Linked DNA regions of Homo sapiens: all the other regions are linked to region 3. The links are contacts of gene promoters, found by promoter capture Hi-C in blood cells and fetal thymus (Javierre and others, 2016). All regions are on one chromosome and are shown on one strand. The core of a region is centred on a gene start or on the middle of the fragment in contact, and the rest is flanking DNA. Distances in the headings are between cores, read along the strand shown. Region 1 overlaps SLC25A26 (solute carrier family 25 member 26). Region 2 overlaps KBTBD8 (kelch repeat and BTB domain containing 8). Region 3 holds the start of ARL6IP5 (ARF like GTPase 6 interacting protein 5). Region 4 has its middle 4.3 kb from the start of KBTBD8. Region 5 has its middle 36 kb from the start of KBTBD8. Region 6 overlaps LRIG1 (leucine rich repeats and immunoglobulin like domains 1). Region 7 overlaps FOXP1-DT (FOXP1 divergent transcript).

Evidence for each region. Contacts are between HindIII fragments. The CHiCAGO score rates a contact against its expected background, and 5 or more counts as called.
Region 1: a fragment that was not itself captured here is called in contact with the fragment with the promoter of ARL6IP5 in region 3 in 1 of 17 cell types (non-activated CD4 T cells); the score reaches 5.7 in non-activated CD4 T cells.
Region 2: a fragment that was not itself captured here is called in contact with the fragment with the promoter of ARL6IP5 in region 3 in 5 of 17 cell types (total B cells, erythroblasts, total CD8 T cells and 2 more); the score reaches 13.4 in total B cells.
Region 4: a contact is called between a fragment that was not itself captured here and the fragment with the promoter of ARL6IP5 in region 3, in 11 of 17 cell types (total B cells, naive CD4 T cells, fetal thymus and 8 more). The highest score is 32.1, in total B cells.
Region 5: a fragment that was not itself captured here is called in contact with the fragment with the promoter of ARL6IP5 in region 3 in 2 of 17 cell types (total B cells and naive B cells); the score reaches 7.3 in total B cells.
Region 6: a fragment that was not itself captured here is called in contact with the fragment with the promoter of ARL6IP5 in region 3 in 1 of 17 cell types (non-activated CD4 T cells); the score reaches 5.2 in non-activated CD4 T cells.
Region 7: a contact is called between a fragment that was not itself captured here and the fragment with the promoter of ARL6IP5 in region 3, in 1 of 17 cell types (naive B cells). The highest score is 5.6, in naive B cells.

The regions. Positions count from the first base shown.
Region 1 is chr3:66,310,792-66,313,491 of GRCh38, forward strand. All of the region lies in intron 5 of SLC25A26 (solute carrier family 25 member 26), which reads left to right. Among named protein-coding and RNA genes, the nearest start is that of SLC25A26, 91 kb to the left of the region's middle. The HindIII fragment of the contact is 441 bases long and covers 1,072-1,512 here.
Region 2 is chr3:67,011,152-67,013,851 of GRCh38, forward strand. It overlaps KBTBD8 (kelch repeat and BTB domain containing 8), which reads left to right. Exons shown (of 4, transcript NM_032505.3): 4 at 1-59. Among named protein-coding and RNA genes, the nearest start is that of KBTBD8, 14 kb to the left of the region's middle. The HindIII fragment of the contact is 4,490 bases long and covers 1-2,700 here.
Region 3 is chr3:69,083,487-69,086,186 of GRCh38, forward strand. ARL6IP5 (ARF like GTPase 6 interacting protein 5) reads left to right here and starts at 1,451. Exons shown (of 3, transcript NM_006407.4): 1 at 1,451-1,737. The coding sequence starts at 1,562. RefSeq lists an enhancer at 1,222-1,531. The HindIII fragment of the contact is 15,418 bases long and covers 605-2,700 here.
Region 4 is chr3:66,992,654-66,995,353 of GRCh38, forward strand. No RefSeq gene overlaps it. Among named protein-coding and RNA genes, the nearest start is that of KBTBD8, 4.3 kb to the right of the region's middle. The HindIII fragment of the contact is 8,708 bases long and covers 1-2,700 here.
Region 5 is chr3:67,032,868-67,035,567 of GRCh38, forward strand. No RefSeq gene overlaps it. Among named protein-coding and RNA genes, the nearest start is that of KBTBD8, 36 kb to the left of the region's middle. The HindIII fragment of the contact is 299 bases long and covers 1,294-1,592 here.
Region 6 is chr3:66,449,237-66,451,936 of GRCh38, forward strand. LRIG1 (leucine rich repeats and immunoglobulin like domains 1) reads right to left here. Exons shown (of 19, transcript NM_015541.3): 3 at 2,323-2,397. Among named protein-coding and RNA genes, the nearest start is that of LRIG1, 50 kb to the right of the region's middle. The HindIII fragment of the contact is 4,284 bases long and covers 1-2,700 here.
Region 7 is chr3:71,585,695-71,588,394 of GRCh38, forward strand. FOXP1-DT (FOXP1 divergent transcript) reads left to right here. Exons shown (of 1, transcript NR_182289.1): 1 at 1-1,715. Among named protein-coding and RNA genes, the nearest start is that of FOXP1-DT, 2.1 kb to the left of the region's middle. The HindIII fragment of the contact is 2,054 bases long and covers 316-2,369 here.

The DNA.
Region 1 (2,700 bases), core at 42-2,541, 2.8 Mb before region 3:
TTTTCTTTAAGAATGTTGAATATTGGCCTTTACTCTCTTTTGGCTTGTAGCGTTTCTACAGAGAGATCTGCTGTTAGTCTGATGGGCTTCACCTTGTAGGTAGCCTGACCTTTCTCTCCGGCTGCCCTTAACATTTTTTCCTTCCTTTCAACCTTGGTGAATCTGATGATTATGTGTCTTGGGTTGATCTTCTCGAGGAGTATCTTAGTGGTGCTCTCTGTATTTCCTGAATTTGAATGTTGGCCTTTCTTGCTAGGTTGGAGAAGTTCTCCTGGGTAATATCCTCAAGTGTGTTTTCCAACGTGGTTCCATTCTCCCTGTCACTTTCGGGTACACCAATCAATCGTAGGTTTGGTCTTTTCACATAGTCCGATATTTCTTGGAGGCTTTGTTCGTTCCTTTTCATTATTTTTTCTCATCTTGTCGTCACACTTTATTTCATTAAGTTGATCTTCAGTCTCTGATAGCCTTTCTTCTGCTTGATCGATTCGGCTATTGATACTTGTGTATGCTTCACGAAATTCTCGTGCTGTGTTTTCCAGCTCCATCAGGTCATTTATGTTCGTGTCTAAACTGGTTATTCTAGTTAGCTGTTCCTGTAACCTTTTATCAAGGTTCTTAGCTTGCTTTCATTGGGTTAGAACATGCTCCTTTAGCTCCGAGGAGTTTGTTATTACCCACCTTCTGAAGTGTACTTCTGTCAGTTTTTCATACTCATTTTCTGCCCAGTTTTGTTCCCTTGCTGGTGAGGAGTTGTGATCGTTTGGAGAAGAGGTATTCTGGTTTTTGGAGTTTTCAGCCTTTTTTTGGTGGTTTTTCCTCATCTTCATGGATTTGTCTGCCTTTGATCTTTGACGCGGATGACTTTTGGATAGGGTTTTTGCGTGGGTGTCCTTTTTGTTTTTGTTGATGTTATTGCTTTATGTTTGTTAGTTTTCCTTCTAACAGTCAGGCCCCTCTGCTGCAGGTCTGCTGGAGTTTGCTGGACGTTCATTTCAGACCCTGTGTGCCTGGGTATCACCACCAGAGGCTGCAGAACAGCAAAGCTTGCTGCCTGCTCCTTCCTCTGAAAGCTTTGTCCCAGAGGGGCACATACCAGATGCCAGCTGGAGCTCTTTTTTATGAGGTGTCTGTTGAACCCTCCTGGGAGGTGTCTCCCCATCAGGAAGCATGGGGGTCAGGGACCCACTTGAGGAGGCAGTGTGTCCCTTAGCAGAGCTCAAGTGCTGTGCTGCGAGATCCACTCCTCTCTTCAGAGCTGGCAGACAGGAACAGTTAAGTCTGCTGAAGCTGTGCCCACAGCTGCCTGTTCCCCCAGGTGCCCTGTCTTATGGAGATGGGAGTTTTATCTATAAGCACCTGACTGGGGCTGCTGCCTTTCTGTCAGAGATGCCCTGCCCAGTGAGGCAGTCTAGAGAGGCAGTCTGGCTACTGTGGCTTTGCAGTGGGTTCTGCCCAGCCCGAACTTCGCCGCAGCTTTGTTTACACTGTGAGGGGAAAACCACCTACTCAAGCTTCAGTAATGGTGGATGCCCTTCCCCTAACCAAACCCAATCACCCCAGGTCGACTTCAGAATGCTTTGCTGGCAGCAAGAATTTCAAGCCAGTGGATCTTAGCTTGCTGGGCTCTGTGGGGGTGGAGCCTACTGGGCAAGATCACTTGGCTTCCTGGCTTCAGCCCCCTTTCCATGGGAGTAAACAGTTCTGTCTCACTGGGGTTCCAGGTGTCACTGGGTACGAAGAAAAAAAAGAAACAACAGAAAAAAAAAAACTCCTGCACCTAGCTCTGCCCAAACAGCCACCCAGTTTTGTGCTTGAAACCCAAGACCCTGGTGGCGTAGGCACTAGAGGGAATCTCCTCGTCTGTGGGTTGCGAAGACTGTGGGAAAAGCATAGTATTTGGGCTGGAATGCACCATTCCTCATGACACAGTCCCTCAAGGCTTCCCTTGTTTAGGGGAGGTAGTTCCCTGGCCCCTAGTGCTTCTCGGGTGAGGCAACACCCCACCCTGCATCTGCTTGCCCACTGTGGGCTGCACCCACTGTCTAACCAGTCCCATTGAGATGAACCGGGTACCTCAGTTGGAAATGCAGAAATCACCCACCTTCTGTTATGGCCTTGCTGGGAGCTACATATCGGAGCTGTTCCTATTCAGCCATCTTGCCAGATCCCCCTGTTTGTTTGTTTGTTTGTTTTTCATGTAAATATAAGGTCCTTGTAGACTCTGGATACTAGACCTTTGTCAGATGGATGGATAGCAAAAATTTTCTTCCACTCTGTAGGTTGCCTGTTTGCTCTGATGATAGTTTCTTTTGCTGTGCAGAAGCTCTTTAGTTTAATTAGATCCCATTTATCAATTTTTGCTTTTGTTACTATTGCTTTTGGCGATTTTGTGATGAAACTTTTGCCTGTGCCTGTGTCCTCAATGGTATTGCCTAGATTTTCTTCTAGAGTTTTTATGGTTCTGGGTTTTACAGTTAAGTCTTTGATCCATCTTGAGTTAATTTTTATATAAGGAAGGGGTCTAGTTTCAGTTTTCTTGATATGGCTTGCCAGTTCTCCCAGCACCGTTTATTAAATAGGGAATCCTTTCCCCATTGCTTGTTTTTGTCAGGTTTCTCAAAGATCAGATGGTTGTAGATGTGCCATCTTATTTCTGAGTTCTTTATTCTATTCCATTGGTCTATGTGTCTGTTTTTG
Region 2 (2,700 bases), core at 153-2,652, 2.1 Mb before region 3:
TTTTTGCATTTTTACCTGATGTCATTGTTTCTTATAATAAAACCTTTTCTGATTGAAAACTTCCAGTGTTGCAAAGTGATATCTGACTAGTGAGTGTTGCAGAATTAAAATCTGGTAAAAAATCATGAAATACCTTATGTCATGATAGAATGGAATGAGATTTTAATCTATTGAATACCTGTCCTCTGGTAAAAAATGAACTACTTTATGTATATAATACTTTTTAAATTCTAAAGCAAGTTAGTTCACTTATATTGGTAAATTCTTTGTTCTGTTTGTTCTGGCCTAAAATCTTGTTATGTTTGACTCTTTTGTGTTGGTCCACTTTGCATTACCGTAAAGGAATACCTGAGATTGAGGCCTCAGGAGGCTTTAGCTCATGGCAGAGGGTGAAGCGGGAGCAGGAAAGAGAGGGAGCCAGAGAAAGTTGGGGGAGGTTCCTGTCTCTTTAACAATGGGATCTCACATGCGCTCATTACCATAGGGAGGGCACCAAGCCATTGATGAAGAATCCACCCCCATGATCCAAATACCTTCCACTAGGCCCCACTTCTTCCAACACTGGGGATCACATTTCGACATGAGATTTGGAGGGGACAAATGCCCACACTATATAATCTCTTACGTATTTCATGTTTAATTCATCAGAAAGTCCCGTTGCTTCTTCCTTCATAATACATCCAGACTCAGACCACATACCATTTGCACCACTGTCACCCTAGTCTAAGCCAGCTTATCTTATCTGACTTAATGCAGTTTCCACTGACTGGTCTTCCTTCTATCACCCTTGACCCCTCATAACCTATTCTTTTCTCCACACAGTACTCAGAGTGATCCTCTTAAAACACAAGTCAGATCATGTTTCTCTTCTGCTCAGATCCTTCCAATGGCTTCCCATCTCCCTTCATATGACAGCCAAACTCCATACTTACATGATCCACCCCTCTCAAACTTGTTGCCATTTACTTGGCTTGCTCTATTTTAGCCACACTGACCTTGCTTGTTGCTCAAACCTGCTGAGCACCTCCACAGCGACTTTGCCCTTGCTGTCTCTTTTGCTGGATAGATCTTGACAACTCACTCACTTTCTTTTTTATTAAAACATCACCTTACTGGAGAGGCCTTCTCTGATCACATTTTGTAAAATAAGATCATCCAACCCCACCCCCATCATACCTCCTGCTTTATTTTTCTGCTTTATTTTCCATATGTGTCTTCCCCCATTGAAATGTACACTCCACAAAGGCAACGAATTTATTTTAATTCACTGTTGCACTTTAGATTGATGCCTAGCACATAGTAGGCACTCAATGAATGCTTGTGGGAAGAAATGAATTTTCAGTTAAGTCTTGGAGCCTAAAGGATTACCAATTTTATTGGTCTTTTCAAAAAAAAAAAAAACCAGGTTTAGTTCTAATGAATTTTCTCTATTGTTTTGTGTTTTCGGTTTCATTGATTTCTGTTCTAATTTTTATAGTTTTTTTTCTTCTGGTTGCTTTAAGTATTAATAACTCATCTTTCTATTTCTTTTCTTTTTTTTGAGACAGGGCCTTACTCTGCCCAGGCTGGAGTGCAGTGACGCAATCTTGGCTCACTGCAGTCACCTCCACGGCTCAAGAGATCCTCCCACCTCAGCCTCCTGAGTAGCTGGGACTACAGGCGCACGCCACTGTGACCAGCTAATTTTCATTTTTTTTTTTTTTTTTTTTTTTTTTTTTTGTTAATACGGGGTTTCACCATGTTGCCCAAGCTGATCTCAAACTCCTGGGCTCAAGTGTTCTGCCTGCCTCAGTCTTCCAAAGTGCTGGGATTATAGGCATGAGCCACTGTGACTGGCCTTCTTTTCCTAATATATGCATTTAATGCTATAAATTTTCCTTTAAGTATTTCTTTTGTAGAATCCCACAAATTTTATTTAGTATTTTCATTTTCTTAGTACAAAATATTTTTATCATGTCTTCTTGGGGAATATACCCTTTCATAATTATGTAATTGCTTCTCTTTATCCTTGATAATCTTTTTTCTGAAGTCTTCTCTGTTTGAAATTAACATAGCCACTCAAGTTTTCTTTTAATTACTGTTTGCTTCATTTATCTTTCTCCATCCCTTCTCTTTTAACCTATCCTAATCTTTATACTTAAAAGGGCTTTCTTGTAGACAACTTACAGTTGGGACTTATTTTAATATCCATTGTGAGAATACTGGTATGTTTAGACCAGCATTGCATTTAAAGTGAGTACTGATATAGTTGGGTTAATATTTAACATATTGGTTATTGTTTTCTATTTGTTGCCCTTCTTCTTTGTTTCTTTTTTTCACCTATTTTCCTGCTTTCTCTGGTTTTGACTGAGCATTTTATATAGGATTCTATTTTATCTCCTCTTAGCACTTCAATTATACTTTAATTTTTTTTTCAGTGGTTGCATTAGACTTACAATATACATTTCAAAACTAATCTAAGTCCACCTTTAAATAACACTATACTGCTTCGTGTGTAGTGTAGGTATCTTAGAACAAAGTTCCCAATTTTCCCCTCTGATCCCTCATGACATTGCTGTCATTCATTTTAGTTATCCATATGCTATAACCATGCAATACATTGTTATGATTAAAGTCATACTTTTAGATCAATTGATATTTAAAAAATAAGATATTTTACTTCATCTTCACTTATTCCTTCAGTATTCATTTATTTAGGCA
Region 3 (2,700 bases), core at 201-2,700:
TATACATTCCTTCACTTAGCCTCGTCTATATGGCAGATGTTCCATTATCCCCACTTTACACATGAAGACACCGAGGCTGGGAGAGATTAAGTAGTTTCTCCAAAGTCACCTGCCAGAGAGGAAGGAGCTGCGACTCTAATTTTGCTTTCTCTGACTTCACACCATCCCATTTTTCCAGAATCAAGAAAACATGAGCACTCAGGAATATTTTCACATTTTAAACTTTATTCAAAAAGCAGCACATAAGATATATCTTAGCACTAATTCCATGCAATCACCAAATTTTCCTAAACAACAGTAGTAGTAGTAATTTCTTAGAGTCGCTGTAAGCTCCTTAACTGTCTTCTGAATTAATAAGGAAAATTAAATTATGTTTTCTAGACTTTGCATTAGTATATTTCATTACTTTCCAAGTTTTCAAAAATTGGTGATCTGAGTAGAGTGAATTCACCTTGTCTAAGCCACTTAGGGGCTTAGAGACTCTGTTATCTTAGAAATCTTCACCTTAGAATTCTACCTATTACATTATACAATTAAACAAACTACTTTTTTTCTCATGCATTGTACCAATCAGCCCCTTAACTGAAAAAAGATGACCCTTGGAAGCTTAGAAGAGAATTGACAACGAATACTTCTTTTGCCAGGTCTTTGGGCTGGGATACAAAACATCACGTTATCTATGAATATATTGTGGTCCCTCAGTGAAAGCTGTCACCAAATATTGCAATAAAACTAAGAAAACTTTTGAAGTGGAATGCATATTTCTGCCCAGAAAATGCTGGATGCAGAACAACTAGTTCACTGCAGACAACTGTTTGCTTTAAAATGTAAGCAACATGCCCAGCTCAGGACTGAAGTGGCCAGAGTGCCTACTTTATCAGAATGGCATAGCAGTCCAACAATTTAGCCTAGAGAGAACAGAGGTGGAGAACAAAGAAGAGAAGTGAAAAAAACAGACCAGCCCTTCTGTTCTACATGACCTTCTTTCCCGTTTTGCCAATCTGATTTCACACATAGTGACTCATGGTGAAACAGAGAAAACATGGGAATTGCATTCAGATGTGTAGAGGTTAGTAAGACTTAGTTTTCAAAAGCAGCTCATTCTCCATTAACACTGTAGTCGCCTTCCATTTCATTTCACTTAGATTGGCATCTGCACAGCTGCCAAAATTTTTCTCTAAGTCAGAGAACACACTCCTAGGTAAACCTTCAAAAAAGGTATTTCGAAGGAGGCAGCTTCTCTGCTGCTAGAGAAGGCATTGCCACCTCCCTTCAGACAGGGGATTTCCGCTAGTTGCTTTCTGTCATTTCGTCTCTATTCTGCACTCAGTCCCTTGTTCTGTCTGGAGGTTCCTGTTTTCCTGTACCCAACCAAGAGCCAATGAAGAAGTAAAGAGGAGCAAACACGCCCGCCCACTCCCAATTTCCTTTGCTCTGCTGTCTGCCAACCGCAAAGCCGACCGAGACGGAGCCGCTGTCAACTCTCCAACTCAGCTCAGCTGATCGGTTGCCGCCGCCGCCGCCGCCAGATTCTGGAGGCGAAGAACGCAAAGCTGAGAACATGGACGTTAATATCGCCCCACTCCGCGCCTGGGACGATTTCTTCCCGGGTTCCGATCGCTTTGCCCGGCCGGACTTCAGGGACATTTCCAAATGGAACAACCGCGTAGTGAGCAACCTGCTCTATTACCAGACCAACTACCTGGTGGTGGCTGCCATGATGATTTCCATTGTGGGGTAAGTGGGGTCCCCCTACCCGGGACACCGATCCGGGGCGAGCACGGAGGGGCCTCGGGGTGCAAGATCCCGGGATGTAGAGACGCTCTCTGACCACGCTCAGCGCCTGCCCTGGCAATTCTGCAAGCGGCCAAGCCAGTGGAAACTTGTTTGCAGGGCGAGGCCGCAGTAACCTGGGGCCCCATTTTCTGCACCAAGGGCTGAGACTTGAGGGGGGCCCTAGGGGAAAGAGGACGGGGAAAATTTGCCAGCCGCAGGGAAGAAAAATGAGAGTTCCCCCACCCCCCTGCCCCCGCCCGCGTGCCAGGATCGGGCTCTTGCTGGAAAGATATTTGTAGCGCCCTCGTCTTTTAAAAATAAGAAGAAAAAGGAAAGTGGTGTAACCCTACCCTGGAGCTGGCTGGGGCGGCAGGGTGTGGACCCGGGCTAGTGTAAAAAGGGCAACCAAGTGGCGACGCACTTTGCTGCTTTCTCTGCCTAATGCCTGCCACACTGTACAGTAAAGCTGAGCTTGGGATCAAAAGGGGGGGTGTCTCCTGGTGGCGCATCTCCCATTGTGGGGTAAAGGCTGCCATGACTGTGGGAAGATGGCCTTCTGGCATTTTCTTCCAGCAGTGGCCAGGCGTGGTCACTTTCTCTGTCTTCGCTTCCTAGCCTGAGGTTTCAATGTATCAGAAGGCCTTTTCAATACCTGATACTTAACAAAGTATCCTGTGTTGAGACTGCATGTACACCTGCTTTCCTAGAAACCACCTTTCCTTCTAGTTCACCCTTTAAGAAATGCTTCTCTCGCTTATGCAGGATGGGTGGTGATATTCTCAATCTTGCTGATTATCTCCTACACATCTTTAAAGAAAAAGCCACCCTCAGACTTTATAAAGGACTCACTTGCACTTAAATGTCTGACATTTCTATTTCAGGGCAGACGTAGAGGGAAGAAGCAGCAAGCTGGCTTGGGAGAAA
Region 4 (2,700 bases), core at 14-2,513, 2.1 Mb before region 3:
ACAGTGAGCTAGTTGATAGAAATGTAAAGAATATAAAGAATTGACTACATGCGTTCAAAGCAGCATGCATAGACCTTACTTAAATACATGGTACCAAGTGAAAAAGTTAGAAACAAATTGAGATCCATAGCATGATACCATTATATAAACCATAAGAGCACATAATCAACACATATTCAATACATTAATACATATTTTACAAGAACAGAAACACAGGATCCACATCAAACCCATTATAATGGTTGTATTTGAAGTTGGAAGAGGATGGAAGTAAAGAATGGGGATTGAAGGCAACAGTACATATGTAGCAAAAGAGATGGGGCATATGGACCAAAGATAATATTGTGTTGTGAACCAAGAAGTATAACTCTACGCTGTGAAATGGATATTTAAAAGGAAAACAAACAAACTACCTTTAAATAATAAACAAAGTACACTTATGTAAACTTTAATAGTGCTGTTAACAAAGTGGGAGAACATACAGCACAGAGGACCACAGAGCAGGTAGAAGGAGGATGTTGTAGAACACTTGTTCTCAACTGCGATGATTTTCCCCCAGAAGACATTAGACAATGTCTGGGGCCATTTTAATTTTCGTAACTGAGAGGTGGGTGCTACTGGCACCTAGTGGGTGGAGGACAGAGATGCTGCTAAGTATCTGACGATGCACAGGGCAGCCCCTACAACAAAGAATTGTCTAGCTGAAAATGCCAAGAGTGCTGAGATAAAGAAAAACCATGTGTAGAACAACCAGAAAAAAATCCCTGAAATTATTGTGACATGTCAATAGATTTGATTTATAAATATTTGATTATTTGGGGGATTAAAATATAATCAACTACTCATCCTCTATGTTCTCTCTGCTGGGTTTAAGGAATTCCTTTCCAAACACCTGATGCCTATTCTTCATGAATTTCAGTTCCTGTGTCTACACACTGATGATTACTGATCCCTGATTCTCCTTACACTTAGAGTTTTTAGTGATTCCATGGACTTAAAAAAAATCAAATCATAATTGGGGTTAGAAAGAATCAACAATCATTGTTTAATTCCATTAGTTCTATTTGGGTTATAAGCCAATCTTCAAACAGAGAAGAGTGCTGATGTCTCACATTTTGACAGTGGCTTTGGCTCATGCAATCATTCTAAGTTTGAATATTACTGAATAAATTAAGGGTAAAGTAGAGTAATTCTATTCAGGATCTCCAATCTGGTACAATAATTCAATCTTTCAGTAGAACAGTGAAGCAGTGTCTACTTAATAAATATGGATGGCTAATCACACACATATATATTTTAGCCACTTCTTTTCATTATTTAGTGAACAGACAAAACATGCTAAATCACTATACCTCTAAAATTATAAATTTGGTTTGACAAAGTCAAATTAGTTTAATGGTATGACATATATCCCTCTAGTCTTTCCTTTTTTTTTTTTTTCAATTTCTTGGGGCGTGAAACCATCTCAAACCTATACCAATAATTCTGTCCATTCATGACAGATATTGATTGACCTTGTGTTAGACAAAGAACCAGACATGTTCAATAGGGAGAAAATCCTACACTTCAATTTCAATACTCCATTTATTCCCAGACCTTTACATGCTGTTATCAAAAGACAGTTGGCTTTGGAGCCAAAGACCCCTAAAAGACTACGGGCAGGTTATTGAAATTCTCAAGGCTTTGGTCACTTCATTGTAACTTTGTTCTTAGAAAATTTAATTAAAAGGTGAAATTAAGTGCAATAAAGTAGGTAACACAACCATTAATTCCTTTTCCTTGTTCTATTCCTAAATTAAGCCCTATCAATATTAAAGTGAATGCTTTACCTTCTGGGTCAAGCCAAGATAAAGCAATTAGGCAAGAAAGTACTCCACATCACTTTTGCAAATAGTTCTATGGTGTATCCTCTTTGGATGCTCAGCTTAAATCCCACACCAGCTGAACAGAATTTCTTATCTCTTTCGAAATCCTTAATATTAATTGTTGGAAATACTTATTTTATGCTAACTAGGGGTTGCCCTTAGTTCTCATTTTCTAGTTGATTTTCATGGGAATAAGTTTTATTTTCACAGATAAACCATAAGATCCTTGAGATTAGGAATCTCATATCTCTACATCCATCTAATCTTTATCTATCTATCTATCTATCTATCTATCTATCTATCTATCTATCTAGTTTTGTATAGGAAACATTGATTCAGACAGTGCCTTCTTAGAATGCAGGTTGTGGGAGGAGGCAATCAATATTTCTGAGGAACTGAATATTACTGCCACTAGCTTCAAAGTCTTTTTTTCATGTATATGCTAAATTCCAAATACTTAAAAATTAATGCACATTAATATCCTCCAGTATGATCAAATTCAGTGATTCATGAAATGCAATCTTCTAGTTATTACCATGTTGAATCCTCATATAACCTCAAAGGGAATAAAAAACTAAAAATACAACAAAGCCCAGTGGTGCCCAATCAGTAAACCTAATGTTAGTATCTATTTAGAGTTTTGTATTTAAAGAAACTAAATCATGGGCAATATATAAAGTTTTAGAAATTTTAAAAAACTTTGTGTATCTGATGTCATATTAAATTTATATTGAATAATCACTTTTGTTGTTTCATTTATCTAGCCAATGCAGAAGTTTTAAGCAAGAAAAAAAAGTCACATTGAAAATATCAAGAAGGTTGTAGCTGTAGGCTG
Region 5 (2,700 bases), core at 193-2,692, 2.1 Mb before region 3:
TTTTAAATCTAAAATAAATTAAGCTAAAAAGACTTGTAAAGGTCAAATGCATGGAAAGAATTAAGTTGAAACAGTGATTTGTGTTAAACACACGTTGTACCAGTTTTTTCCCAAGGTTATTTTTGAACTCTTAATGTTTAATAACTGTACAAGGAAATGCAATTTTTTAAAAAAGTAACACTATAGTAGTGTTGACTTATCTTTGTGGGGCTCAAATGTTAGTTTATTCAGCAACTCTTTATTGTGCTCCTAATATGTGCCAGGCAATGCAATACAGCAGTGAAGACCTCAGTAATGATCTTGATCTCTTGCCACTTATGGTTTAATAGGAGGTACAGATAAACCTTCAACTAAATCATACAACAGAGCTAGGCTGTGAAAGAGGAAATGCAGGTGGAAGCTGTACCTATCTAACCCAGGCTGCTAAGCTGAGTCCTGAAGATAAGACGGAGGAGTTTGCTAGGCATAACAGAGTGGGAAGTGTGGTGCATACATAAAAGGTACAGAGGTACAAAGGTACAGAGGAGAAAGAAATGTGCATTCCGAAATGGAAGGAAGTTCATCATGGTGGAGATGAGTTGAGAGAATGAAGGACTATAAATGAGTGGTTCTTAATCAAGGCAGACTTTGGCCCCAGGGAACATTTGTCAATTTCTGGCAACACTTTTGGTGTCACAAGTGGCAGAGGGGGCTGCTATTAGCTTGTAGTGGGTAGAGGTCAGGGAAGCTGCTAAACATCCGCCAGTGCACAGGACAGCCTCCACAACAAAGACCAGCTCTCAAGGTCAGTAATGCTTAAGCTAAGAAACTCTGTAATATTAAAAGATAAACCTGTACACTTGGGGTTAGATTACAAAGCTACTGAAGGAATTTGGGATTTATTCTAGGAATTTGGGGGCACCACTGAAAGATTTTAAGCACATGTTGTTTGTCACTCTGAGAACCACTTTATTGTTATGGCTGAACCTCAGTATTTTAAAATCTATACTAAGTCTCACTCATGTGGGCTAACCATTGTGCCTACTACAAATGACATCTCCCTATTTTACAAAGGTGGAAAGAGCATCATTGTGAAATGTTCGCTAAAAGTTTAAAAAAGAAGATGAATTAATTATTTGATCCTCACCAGTCACAACATAATTATTTCAAAAACGTGTATTTATTTAATTGGGCTCCTTCCTGTCACACAGGGTTGAGCGTGGGGGGTCTACTCTCATGAATCTAAAGCACTTCTGGAGATTAATGGAAAATACACTGGGCCAAGGCAAGGTTACAACCTGAAATAAATAACTAAGCTTGTACATTCAGAGCAAAGGGTTTCCTAATTTAAAAAAAAACTTAGTTCCAGACTCTTTTGAACATCTGATGACACTATGGCCTCTTTTTATTTTTATTTTTATTTTTATTTTTTTTACAGAAATATGCACTTATACTCCCAAGTATTTAACTTCAGAGGCTCACAGACCCTAGAGAGATACAGTGGCTTCTCACTTGATACTGATGTTCCTAGAAATATCTAATGGCCAGATTTATAACAATAGACATTTGCCAAAAAAAAAAAAGTATAGCATAATTTAGAATCAATCAGAGAAAGCTTAGCATTTCTTAATCAAGGAGCAACTCTTTCCAAAAATGCTCATCAAGATACCATTTACGTCAACTTGTAAAATATAAATAATGTTGCATCACAGCAAAAAAAGTCTAGGGAAATGAGCAATTTTTTTATGACCCATAATGAAGACAATGTGTTGCTCTGGTTACAATAACCTCTGTGAGAAACAATTCTGTAAACCATGTGCTTTCTGCTGATTCCTTTCCATCTAATCATTACTTTCTCTAAAAATAGTGATTGATTATAGGCTCCGTGTCTTGCAAATTGGAAGAAAGGGTGAACTGATACGTGCTTGAGTTCATCACAGTTTTTTTGTTCTACAATCAAGTACCAGACTTTGGATTCCCTTTACCTTCTTTGACTGCAGATGTCCCAATGGTCTTAGTCATGACGAAACTGCCCCCAAACACCCGCATCTTATACAGACACACATGCACACACACATACACACACATATGTGTGCACACACACACACACCCTCTTCAGTTCTTTGAAGGGCTTAATGCATGCTTATATAAAGGTTTCTATCTATTTTGATGCCATCACCATTAACTCAATTCTACTTCTTGATTTGCCAGTGTGCCCTATCATTTTTCTCACTTGCTAGTTCTGTTCAGAGAATCTGTGTCAGCTTTACCTCCAATTCTCACTGTGATTTCTAGTAATCTGAACCACTTGAACCTGATTCCATTATATTGGGATTTTGTGTACTATAAATATTAGTCATAGGCCAGGTGCAGTGGCTCATGCCTGTAATCCCAGCACTTTGGAAGGCCAAGGCAGGAGGATTGCTTGATCCCAGGAGTTCAAGACCAGCTGGGGCAACATAGGGAGACCATGTATCTACAAAAAAAAAAATGTTTAAAAGTTAGCTGGGTGCAGTGACACATGCCTGTAGTTGCAGCTACTGAGGGCTGAGAAGGAAGGATTGGTTGAGCCCAGGAAGTCATGGCTGCAGTGAGCTGTGATTGTGCCACTCTACTCCAACCTGGGCAACAGAGTAAGACCCTGCCTCAAAAAATAAAATAAAGTAAAATAAAATAAAATAAAATAAGTCAAAATCGAGGTATCAGTGGGGGCTGCAGTTC
Region 6 (2,700 bases), core at 191-2,690, 2.6 Mb before region 3:
TGCCAGCACTGAATCCAGGCATCCAATCTAAGAATGGGGAACACAGGCACCTCAGAGAAAACCAAGATAAAGCCCCTTCGGTTTCTGTCATTTCAGAGAAATCACTGACCAAGTCAGATGGTGCCCAACTTCAGGCCAAAGAGCTGGCTGCCAGTGCTAACCTGCATTTTCCAAACTGAATCCAAACAGGGAGTAACTCTCTTTTTTTTCTCTCCTGCTTTACATACTTCAATGCTGTCTAATGGAATAGCAGGAACAAGGCCAAACAGCCCCACTTCTCTTGGCACTTGGGCCAAGGAACAGAAATGTATTTTTAGTCAGCAGAGCAAGGTGCAATTCTAAGTGCCACAGGCCCGTGGGGCAAACTGGGGGCCCTGCCTGCCTCTGGCACAGTGTGGTTCAGAGTCACCTGCCACGCTCCTGCCCCGAGTGCATGGGGTTAAAGGAGTGATGCAAAGGCGTTTGTGTCTGGTCTCAGTTCCACCTCTCACTTTTACAACTTATAAGACCTCCAGGGAGGCTCAGTTTCCTCTCTGACAACACAGAGATATTCTCTGTGGCCCTAGCTTCCTCACTATGTGAGGAACAAGAGCAGTTACATCAGCATTTCTCAAACTTGAACTCGTGGACAAACGGCCAGGGCCCTTGTTAAATGGAGCTTCTGATCCAGTAGTGTTGGCATTAAGCCTGAGGTTCTGCATTTCTAACAAGCTCGAAGCTAACTCAATACTGATGGTCCATGACCTGTGCTTTAAGCAGCAAGGAGCTCCTAGCATCTTCAAGTGCTTTGCTTTATGGACACACAACAGGTTATCACATCCCTATCAGCCTCACATAAGACGAACTCATTGATTAAGCCAAAAATTAAACACCTTCCAGATGCTGGGCCCACAAACCAAGTGGGTACAAAATAAAGTCAGACCTTTACCCATCAAGGGAACAAAGGGCCACAAACCTTCCTTCCAGCACTTCACAGAAACAGAGACTGACTCTTAAATCCTGCGGCCTTAAAGGTGAGATCCTGCCAAGATCCAAGGAGCTACGTGACAACTAGCCACCAGCCAATGACAGTAACCACCATTTGTCAAACACTCCCACAGAATGCTGGGAGCTTCATATACATTCCACTCCCCCGGGCCTCACTTTCCTCATGTATAAAATGGGTCAAAAATGCATTATGTAAATGAGGGAAACGAGGTTCAGAGAGACTAGGTCATCTGTCCAGGGCACAGAGTGAAGTGCAATTCTAACCCCCCACGCTCTCCTGCAATCCCACAATGCCATGAAAAGGGTTAAACCCAAGACCATGTTTCACAGGGACACAGCACCTCCTGAACACAGGGCATGCTGCCAGCCAAAGATCCGAGATCTGTAAGCTATGCCAGCACTCTTATTAATAGCACCTTCTTGCAAAGTTTCTCTGCTCAGCCTGCCGAGCCTCAGTATTGAGAAAAGATTCATATAGGTGAGCAAACTAATTATAAAACCAGCAAAATCAAAATAAAATTAAACTATGAAAGCCTGGAGTGGAAACAGGAAATTCAGTGTGAAGAGGGAGGTGCTCTGCTGGGGAAGCTGCCAATAAAATCTGGCAGAGAAAACTGTTGGACTCATGGCTGGTTTATCTGGAAAGTCTTCTGGGTGAGTTTAAAACAAGCAAGCTCCTCCACCTGACTGCTGAAGAAATAGGGGTAGGATCAGTGCTCAGTTCTCTAGCAAAGGTTTGTAACAGCACAAATGATAATATTCCCAATGGGTGCCTTCATGTCTTTTTAGCTAAGGCCCTTCATCTGCTTTTTCATTTCCAGTGTGCTGTCTAGAACAAATAGATCGCATCTTATCTAACACTTGACCATGACAACATAGTTTTACGTTGATTCCAGAGGCCTGGGGGCACTTTCTTTTTCTTAAAGCCACAAAAGTAAACTGAGTCACATTACCCAATTCACTGGCACAAAGATTAGCTTGCTGTCTTATAACTGACACAGCTTCCTTTAACTCCAGTTTTACTCAAAGTTGCAGCTTAACCAACCACAGAAGCAAGAAATCTAGTTCCATATACCTCTGCGCATTAAAAAAAAAAAAGACAAAAGACCTACTTTCTTGCAAATTAAAGATGAGGTAAAACTTCCAGCGTTTAATTCTGCAAATCCCAAAACAGCAAGCAAAGCGTTTGTCATGATCATGAGGGCCACATGAAGAAAGGTCTTTCTTCACCAGCGAGCACATGAACTCAAGTTATCCTGCCACCAGGTATCAGCAAGGCAACAAACACCATGGCCCCACCACACAGCCCAGAGTCCCCCAAACGGCACCACTTACAGAAAGAGAGAGACGACATGTGATGAAGCAGCGCCCAGGGATGGTACCGCTGTCAACTCATTATTATTGAGGTACCTGTAACAACAACAAGAAATTAATCATGTAAGGCATTTGAATTAGTCTGAAATCATACACATACAACAGAAATAAACAAACGCTGCTAAGTCTGCCACAGTAAACCTATATTCTAATGTTGGAGAAAAGAGAAAGAATTTAGCAGTGAGTTTTTAAAGGGAAAGAAGTCACATGAGATCACAAAAACTAGCCACTGATCACACCCATGGCTAGAAACAAACACTAAGGGGAAGCATCTCCTGTCTCCCATCAGCTTCCCATCAAACTCAGAAATCAAGACAAGGAACAGTGAGAACAAGCCAA
Region 7 (2,700 bases), core at 93-2,592, 2.5 Mb after region 3:
ACATTGCATGCATGCTGCATAAAGTTCCATGCTATCCAGATAAGACTATTCACTGAATCTTTTAGACTAGAATCTAGACCAATAAAATGCATTTTAGTTTGTATGGAATGTCCTAGCTTCCTAGAGGCTAGGGTTCGACGTCTTGTTTGTCAAGACATAAAGGGATTAATGACATACCCACTGTGTGCTAGACCACAGAGTGGGCACAGAGGGATGAAAAAATAAAAATTCCTGCCCTTGAGGAGCTCACAGTCTAAGCTGTCAATAATAACATCTAACATTTATTAAATACTATGATCTAGGCACTGAACTAAAAGCTTTATGTCAACTCAGTTAATACTGCCAACAACTCTTTGACATCACTGGAAATTCCATATGCTGAATTCACACGGAATTAAGTGGAAATCTACAAAGTAGCCAGTCTACTGGTTCTGTAGTGGTCAACCTATTAAAAATGGTTTTTAATTTCTAAAGTACTTTATGCCAAATATAACATGTTTATGGTATATGCCTGACTGTAGAATTATAACTCAGGGGAATAACGACTTATTTAAATGTAACAGATCTATTCATAGTCTGTAAAGAACAATTCATCCTCTGATCTTGTTTTTCAGATTAAGCAGTGTGTTTATTAAAAATTATTATCATCGCAATACTAAAAAGATCTTTAGATTGCTGCTAATCTGATTCTGCATTTTAACTGCCTTAAATTCTACATTCACTTGCAAGTGGGGGCCACAGTCAGGTTGGCAACAAGTTTTGCAGACAAAAGGAAATCCTGGTTGTAAATCCCATGATATATTGTACTCAATTTTGTATGATACTGTCTAATGTGCTGTGCTGCCTTATTAAAGAACTCGATGTCCATTTGGTTTACATTAGAGGGAAACTTAACTGCAGCTTAACATATTGTTCATTTTCAACACTGTCACGTTACATTCGTGGGGGGCAGATTTTAATTTCTTTATCAGTAATCAACTGGAAGTTTCTTTTTGTTAAATTAAAGCAAGAAAGGTTTTAAAATAAAGGGCATGGGGGTAGGACGCCACCTTTTGGTGATAAAACAAATAGAAATCCCTTCTGAAAACAGATGTTCCTGACATAATTTTATTTTTAATTACACCAAGGCAAAGGTGCTTGTCCCCATTTCGTTATATTTTAAGTAACAGGAGAAAAAAAAAACCAATGTAAATGCAAAATTAGCAAATTATAGTTAACTGCAGCCAAAATTTTCCCAAACGTATCAGAATATGTTAGTCCCCTGTCACATTACTGTTGATTGTATACACCAAACATGAGCTTCATTCACCAAATACCATGTCACTAAATATATGTACATTTGGGGAACAGAAACTGGAGTGGACATTTACCACCTGACGACGTACCTGAATGCTCTTGTAAGTTTTGAGTTGAACAAAAACTAAAACCACTTAATTTAGTGTTTCTTTAACCACAGTTACTGGTGTCCTGATTTTTGCCATATCTATATGACATAACAGTTCCCGAATAATTAATATACCATACTCATTGGAGGCCACTTATTATGGTAATTGTAGCAAACATTTTCATTTAAATCAACCTTCTTTTAATTTTTTTCTATTACTGCCTTAAATGGGAAATCAGTATCACCCACCATAAATTAAAAACAAGCACAGTAAAAACAAAGTCACTGATTTCTCTTTGAGGGTCAAAACAAAAATTAAAAATGATTTTTGAAAAAAGGAGGGAGAGTGGCAAATGTTGAGAAGGGTTAAGGACAAGAGTATCAATGGAAATTTTTGAATTTTTGTTTTTTCTCTCTCTTTTTTTCTGTTTTTTTTTTTTTTTTTTTTTTAACAACCAGAAGGATTTAAAGTGATCGGAAAGGAATACAGTTCTCAATGTGTGATTCAGTGTTATGCCATCCTAGTGCCAAGGTTCCTACACTTTAAAAAACATGGGCATAACTAAGAATATCGCATTACAGATGAGGAATCTAAGGCCCAGGGATTTCATTTGCCCTCCAAGGCAAAATAAATTTGGTTACTGGTTGGACAAGGATTAGAATCCAGGTGTCCTGACTTTGTGGGTTTCCATCTCACTCTTTCCACTAAAGTGACCAATCCTCAGACTTAAGTGGTTTGTCTAGCTTCTCAGAAACAGCTAACCTACAGACCCCTTTACAGATCTGGGAGAAACTGAGGCCACAGAGGGTCAAGAACAAGTTCAACCCCCTGCTCACCGTCCTTTCTCTCCACCCTCTCTCCATAGATGTGACAGACATCCAGGTGGGGGTCAACACAGCAAAGAAAGAAGGGAGGGTTGAGAAGAGAAAAGTGGATTCAGAGAGGGGAGGTTAGTAAGCGTGGGCAGACCATTCTCTAAATGAAAGCTTAAACTCAGTTGCCTTCCAAGAAGATAAAAATGGCTAATGAAAATCATGTGCTTCACAGTAAGTGGTAAGAGGAGCCCATCCTCTGTGTCCTCATGTCCCTATATGTCCACACCGGAAATCAGCAGGGGATCTCTTGTTTTAAAGTATACAATATTAACAGGCACACTCTGAGACAAAACCACATTTGATAATTTGAGTGGGTGGAAAAGCTAGTCAGGGAACGGGGAATGACCCTAGCTTAAAAAGTGTTTTCCCCCACAACAAAACTTAAGAGGCTCAGAGTTAAATCTAGAAACAATAGTGCTTTTTCTGTTTTTCTAACTGGA